Regions from separate parts of the Homo sapiens genome. Here region 1 is linked to region 2. Evidence: promoter capture Hi-C in human tissues and cell types (Jung and others, 2019). All regions are on one chromosome and are shown on one strand. Each heading gives the region's core, a stretch centred on a gene start or on the middle of the fragment in contact. The rest is flanking DNA. Distances are from core to core; before and after follow the strand shown.

Evidence for each region. Contacts are between HindIII fragments. The study calls those that stand out against the background at their distance.
Region 1: a fragment that was not itself captured here is called in contact with the fragment with the promoter of CA4 in region 2 in 1 of the 25 tissues and cell types used here (lymphoblastoid cells).

The regions. Positions count from the first base shown.
Region 1 is chr17:60,649,760-60,653,358 of GRCh38, reverse strand. The region is part of intron 4 of PPM1D (protein phosphatase, Mg2+/Mn2+ dependent 1D); the gene reads right to left. Among named protein-coding and RNA genes, the nearest start is that of BCAS3, 26 kb to the left of the region's middle. RefSeq lists a silencer at 758-807. The HindIII fragment of the contact is 7,187 bases long and covers 1-3,599 here.
Region 2 is chr17:60,148,368-60,151,689 of GRCh38, reverse strand. It overlaps CA4 (carbonic anhydrase 4), which reads right to left and starts at 1,717. Exons shown (of 8, transcript NM_000717.5): 1 at 1,598-1,717. The coding sequence starts at 1,655. The HindIII fragment of the contact is 35,208 bases long and covers 1-3,322 here.

The DNA of each region.
Region 1 (3,599 bases), core at 227-2,726, 500 kb before region 2:
AATCCACGCAATTTGCAGCCAGCTCATCTTCAACAAAGGTGCCAAGAGCAACAATAAATGGTAGGGGGAAAACTGGATAACTATATGCTGAAGAATGAAACTATACCCCTATCTCTCATCACACACAAAAATCAAATCAAAATGGATTAATGACTTAAATCTAAGATCTCAATTAGTAGAATTGGTAACCACAATTCTATTCCCTCTGTGAGATCTACTTTGATCTCACAAACTATGAAACTACTAGAAGAAAACAACATTGGAGAAACGCTCCAGGACACTGTTCTGGGCAAATAATTTTTGCATGAGACCTCAAAAGCACTGGCAACCAAAGCAAAAATAGACAAATGAAAATACAAGCTAAAATGCAAAGGAAACAATCAACAAAGTGAAGAGAGAACCCACAGAATGGGATAAAACATCTGCAAACTATCCATCTGACAAGGAATTAACAACATGTAAGGAGCTCAAATCAGTAGCAACAAAACAAAACAAGCCCCAAATAATCCAATTTTAAAATGGGCAAAAGATCTAAAATACACATTTCTCAAAAGACATACAAATGATTAACAGATATATGAAAAAATGCTCAACATCACTAATCATCAGAGAAATGCAAATCAAAACCACAATGAGGTATCATCTCACTCCAGTTAAAACCACTTGCATCAAAAAGATAGGCAACTACAGATGCTGGTGAGGATGTGCAGAAAGGGGAACCCTCAGTGTTAGTGGGAATGTAAATTAGAGCAGCCACTACGAAGAACAGTATGAAGGTTCCTCAAAAAAAAAAAAAAAAAAAAAAAAACAGAAGTAAACTACCATATGATCCAACAATTCCACTACTATACATATATCCAACAGAAAGAAAATCAATACACTGAAGGTATATCTGCACTCCCATGTTTATTGCAGCACTATTCACAACAGTCCAAATATGGAATCATCCTACGTCAATTCCATTTAATACATGAATGGATAAAGAAAATGTGGTGTATATACACATACACAATGAAATAGTATTCGGCCATAGAAAAGAATGAAATCTTGTCATTTGCAGCAACAGGGATGGAACTGGAGGACATTATGCTAAATGAAATAATCCAAGCACAGAAAGACATGATCTCACTCATATGTGGCAGCTAAAAGAGTAGATCTCACAAAGAGAGAGAGTAGAATTGTGGTTACAAGAAGCCAGGAAGGGTAGTAGGGAGAGAGAGATGAAGGGTGGAAAAAAAGAATATAAATGGATTTTTTACTATTGAATTGTACAATTTCAAATAGTACAAATAGTAAATGTCATATGTATAGTATACTTCGAATTTTTTAAAGTGTGTTTTAAAAATCTCTATTTTTAAGTGTAGTTATGTCCACTCAAACTTTTTTGTGCTTTTCTCTTGAACTAGAAACAATCAATCATGCCTTATGTGTCTTCTTAAAAGACTGCCCTTCTGGGTTTTGTGAATCTCCCTAAATAATTAATTTCTGCTCTATTATTTTCAACCTCCTACTTTGAGGGGTTTTACTATGATATTCTTTTTTGTAACTCTGACTGGATCACTTAGATTGTTTTCTTCATGTAGAATACCATGAGCCTTGTGTTATGGATGCATCATTTTATGTGCCACAAACGAAATAAAAAACACTGTCGGCTGGGCGTGGTGGCTTGGCATGGTGGTTCACACCTGTAATCCCAGCACTTTGGGAGGCCGAGGTGGGTGGATCATGAGGTCAGGAGATGGAGATCATCCTGGCCAATGTGGTGAAACCCCGTCTCTACTAAAATAAAAAAAATTAGCCAGGCATGGTGGCGCGCGCCTGTAGTCCCAGCTACTCGGGAGGCTGAGGCAGGGGAATCGCTTGAACCTGGGAGGCAGAGGTTGCAGTGAGCTGAGATCGCGCCACTGCACTCCAGCCTGGCAACACAGCGAGATTACATCTCAAAAAAAAAAAAAAACCAAAAACACTGTTAATTGAACTGTGATATACCATTTGTAAAAAGTATTCCAATTTCAGAGATATTAAAAGAAAATATGCACCTCAGAATTGATTAAAGGCAGCATTAATCTCTAATTCATGAATCTATCACATTCCCTACGGCATGTGGTTCCACTCTCCAAACACCAGCTGACTGAGCCCTTACCTCTCACTTTTTCAGTGTGCCTGTTTCCCTTCCCATCAATGCTCTATGAAAACAATTATATAAACCATTTTCCACTATCTTACCTGTATATTTTTCCCTCAGCTCACTAGAATTCTGCTGACTTGAGTCCCCCTAATATTGTGTGCTCTTAAACCACAGAGTCTCTCTAAGTGCATATATTGCCACAATTTACGCAACTCTTGTTAACTGTTAAATTAGTATTTCCACGCTTCCCTCCCAAGTTTTTATTTTTAAAGAGATGAGGGTCTCACTATGTTGTCCAGGCTGGAGTGCAGTGGCTATTAACAAGTACAATCATAGAGCCCTACAGCCTTGAACTCCTGGGGTTAAGCAATCCTCCCACAGCCTCCTGAGTAGCTGGGACTATAGGAGCATGCCACCCCTCTCTCTCAAATATTTATAACTGCCTACTGAAGATATCTATCTAGATGAACCACAGGTACCTCAACTCAACATGCCTATGTCTGAACTAATTACCTCCCCCATCTCTCCCTAAATAATGTCTCTTCTTTATAACAGCTTACTAGTCACCAGAGTTAGAAATTTAGGTGTCATCATATTCTTCCTCCTTATAAACATAAGAGCTGTCAATTCTACTACTTATGTATTTGTGTTTTTTGTTGTTGTTGTTGTTGTTGTTGTTTTGAGATGGAGTCTCGCTCTGTCACCAGGCTGGAGTGCAGTGGCACGATCTCAGCTCACTGCAACCTCTGCCTCCTGGGTTCAAGCAATTCTCCTGCATCAGCCTCCTGAGTAACTGGGATTACAGGTGCGAGTCACCACGTCTGGCTGATTTTTGTATTTTTAGTAGAGATGGGGTTTCACCATGTTGGCCAGGCCGGTCTCGAACTCCTGACCTCAAGTGATCCACCTGCCTTGGCCTCCCAAAGTGCTGGGATTACAGGCTTGAGCCACTGCGCCCGGCCTACATGTATTTCTTTGTGTTTTTTCCAAAAACCACTGCTGCCTTAGATTAAGCCTGCAAATTTTCTTGCTCAAATATCACTCTCTTCCATGAAGCTTCCTATGCAGTCTTGTGAAGTTTTCTATCGTCTCACTCTTCCAGGTCTCATAAGACTTGTTCTAATTATACATTATACGGATGCTTCCTTCAATACTCATCTTAAAACACTTTATGGTTCATAAATAGGTTCTTCCAATGCACTACAAACTGGTTTTTGTCTTTATGCCATTGAAATGATCTCTCTCAGATCATTAAAGAATTCTAAATCCATTAGACAGAAGAGTCTTTATGTTACTCTTTGATACATGATAATCTCCAACTAAATGCAACACACCAGGCCCTGAACATGTAAAACTGAATCAAGATGACTCTCACCTTAAAAGAACTCATGATCTAATGGGATTGTTAGTTTTTTATATATTCTATTTATAATAATATGGTAAGTGCTGAGGAAGGACCATATTCTATTTA
Region 2 (3,322 bases), core at 468-2,967:
CTTGGGGGAGAGCCCCATAAACTTGGTATATGACACACCAGCCACGTGCCACACAGGCACCGCACTAATCACTTAAACCCATTATCTTATTCAAACGCTTAAAACCCCTGAAGTCAGAATGACAACACCTGTTTTGCAAATGGGACAGGAAGTGACTTACCCAAGACCACACAGCTACAAAGCACCAGAACTGCAAAGCATTTCTCTTTCTACTTTCTAGCTGCTTAGTAGGTTTCCAATGTCCAACCCTACAAATAAAAGTTTCCACATTCTGCTTTTTCTCTTTCTTCTCCCAGGGGCCCGGTGGAGAGGCTGCAAGGTGCCCCTCGACCCTCTAAGACAGCTCAGCCAGTCCCTGCTGCAAAGGGCACACGCTGGCTCCTCTCTGTGCAGAGGACACCTTCACCCCTCACTCCGCCGCTTTGAGGATGGAGCACCTAACTTGGGAGAGGAGGTTTCAGCCTGCGTGGACCCCAAGAACCATCCGAGGGGTGGTTGGGCTGAGAACTGGCAGAGGGGGTCTTCCGGTGATGGGGTCTGGGGTTGCAAAGAAGGTGCCTCCAGGATCGGATCCCTGTGCCCAGCCGCTTGAAGCGCCTTTAGCTTCTTATCAAATATTAACATGCCTTTCCTGCCACCTCCCACCTAGAGGAATAATTAAGAGCTCGGCTTCACCATTAATCTTTAAACGAAAATCACCCTGTCCGGAAAGACCGGCTCCGCAGAGGCCTTGGGGCTCCGGGTCCCCCACCCCCCGCCCCCGCCAGGCTCCCAATTCAGCGCTGGAGGTTAGGGAGGCCAGGGGAGCTTGCGACCCTCAGGGGCAAGGAACCCGTGTGGGAAGCGCGGCTTCCAGGACCCTGCCAGACCGCCCTTGCTCTGGCCGCGGGGCAGTCACCCAGCGCTGAGTCCCAGCGGGACGGACGGAAACCCACGGGCAGACGGAGGAGGCTGGGTGAGAAAAGAAGGCGTGCGTTGAGGCGGGTCCGAGAAGCATCCTTTTTTTTTTTTTTTTTTTTTTTTTTTTTTTTTTTTAAACGGAGCACCAGGCTGGAGTGCAGTGGCGTGATCTCACTGCAACCTCCACCTCCTGGGTTCAAGCGATTCTCGGGCCTCAGCCTCCCGAGTAGCTGGGATTACAGGCGTGTGCCACCACGTCCGGCTAATGTTTGTATTTTTGGTAGAGATGGGATTTCACCATGTTGGCCATGCTGGTCTCGAACTCCTGGGCTCAGGTGATCCACCCGCCTCTGCCTCCCAACGTGCTGGCATTTCAGGCTGGAGCACCCGCGCCCGGCCTGAGACGCATCCTTATCAGGGACTCCCAACTCGTCTCGCCGGGCCACGCGCACACACCCTCACCGCGCACACCCGTGCACACGCTCCCCCAGCCGGTGCTGACACGCGTGTGCACACACAAGCTCGCGCGCTGCCCAGTCCTCCCGCACCCTCGCGGCCCCCGGCGCACACGCAACCCGGGACCCCAGCGCCACCGACGCTCACCGGTCGCCCGCGGGGGGATCCTCTGCAGGGGCGGGAGCTGGGGGCACGGAGGGGACCGCCGAGGGGCACCTGGGGCCGGAGCCCGGGAGCTCACCTGCACTGGCCGATGGCCGCGCCGCGGAGAGGGCCAGGAGCGCCAGCAGCATCCGCATCTTGCGGGACAGCAAAGAGTCCTCTGAGCCGGGGGTCGCGCACCGAGGAGGCCGCCGCGGGTGCAGCGATCCTGCCGGCCTGGGTTTTATAGCGGAGCCGCGACGGGAGGGAGCCCCGACAGCTGGACGCGGGAGGCGGCTCCTCCCCCTGGCGGGGCCTGCCCTCCCCTCTCCACCTTCCCCTGTCCCTCATCTGAAATCCTCCGCTCTCCCCGGTCCCCCGCCCTGCCTGGCCACCTCTTGCCCTGTGCGCAAGGCCCCCTCACCCACTCCGCGTCCTCTCCACTCAGCAGCGGCGCCCTGCCCCTCCCCCATCCTACTCCTGGTCCCTGGTTTGGGAACAGGGACACGACACCACAAAGTGCTTGACCCACACAAAGATGAGTGCCCCATGATGACTTTGATCATTCTGGCGCCACCCCTGCGCAGTGGTCTTGAATGGGACCTTGGAATGGCCTTGGGGTGGGGGTGGGGGTGGGGGTGGAGATGGCCTCGAAGAGATGAGAGGCTGAGGGGCGTGTGATGCCGTTTGTTGAATCAGTGGCCGCAGAAAGGCTCTCCTATCTCTCTTTGGCAGTGGCCATTGATTCTCTGGGTCTCATCTCTTCTATTTCCTCCCAGGCTGCTCCAAACTTAATTTCTAAGCAGACCAAAGACCTTTCTTCGAATACAGAGCAAAGCTGTCCCTAAACTACTGCCCTTGCTGGTGTTTATGTGATGACCAGGGAGGGTTGATGGGGCAGAATTAAGAAATGGATTGTAAGAGGATTCGGTGAGGGAGAAGCTGATGGGGTCAAAGGGGAGGAGCTAGGTTCTTTGAGCCCCCCAGGTGGAGAGATGAGATGGGAAGAGAAGAGACTGGGGTCTGAATGGACCCCTGGTTCTCCCATCTGGCAAGACCTCCAGAGGAGTCCAGGGGAAGTTCCCTTAAGGGCGGCTCCAACATTTGGGGAAATGGGGTCCCCCCCATGCCCCCAAGCTGCCTCTTGTCTCCTCTCTTAGCTGTGCCCTCCTGCTACTGCAGGTCCTCTGTGTCCCACATGGGGTGGGGGCTTCTGTGGGAGTTTGGGAAGCTCAGGCTGGGGTGCGGGAGAGGGACGGGGAACCAGGCAGTGGACCTGGACCTCCTCCATCAATCCATCAACAGGAAGCCCCCTTTTTCTGGTTTAGCCACTCCCCATCCGCTGCCAACCTCTCAGTCCCTACCGACCTTCGAACCTGGGCTAGGGACTTCTGAAGGGGGATTGCCTCCCCCAGAAGGATTCAGGCAAAGATGCTTCCTCCTTGCTTAGGGTTGAGGCTGACTCCCCGCTCCTGGCCCAGGATCACACAGCCTCACAGAGCAGCTTTGATCCTACAGAGAGGCAGGAGGGAGGTGAGGGGGTGTCCATGCCAGGCTTAGGGCTCTATTGTCAACACCACTGTATAATGTAATCACCAGCCTGCGACCATGACAGCCACAGGAGGGATTCCACACCCAGAGCCTATTCTGGGGAGTGCATTTGTGTTCACAGGGCTATAAAAATGTCCCTTTCAGGACTGAGGAAGCCTGTTCCTGGGAATAAAAACCACCCCCAGGGAGTCCCTGTGACCTCTGGCCAGCCCCCTGATGAGCAGGGGAGAGGCTTGGGAAACTTTGGTGGGGTTAAGGGACTGTTGATCAATGA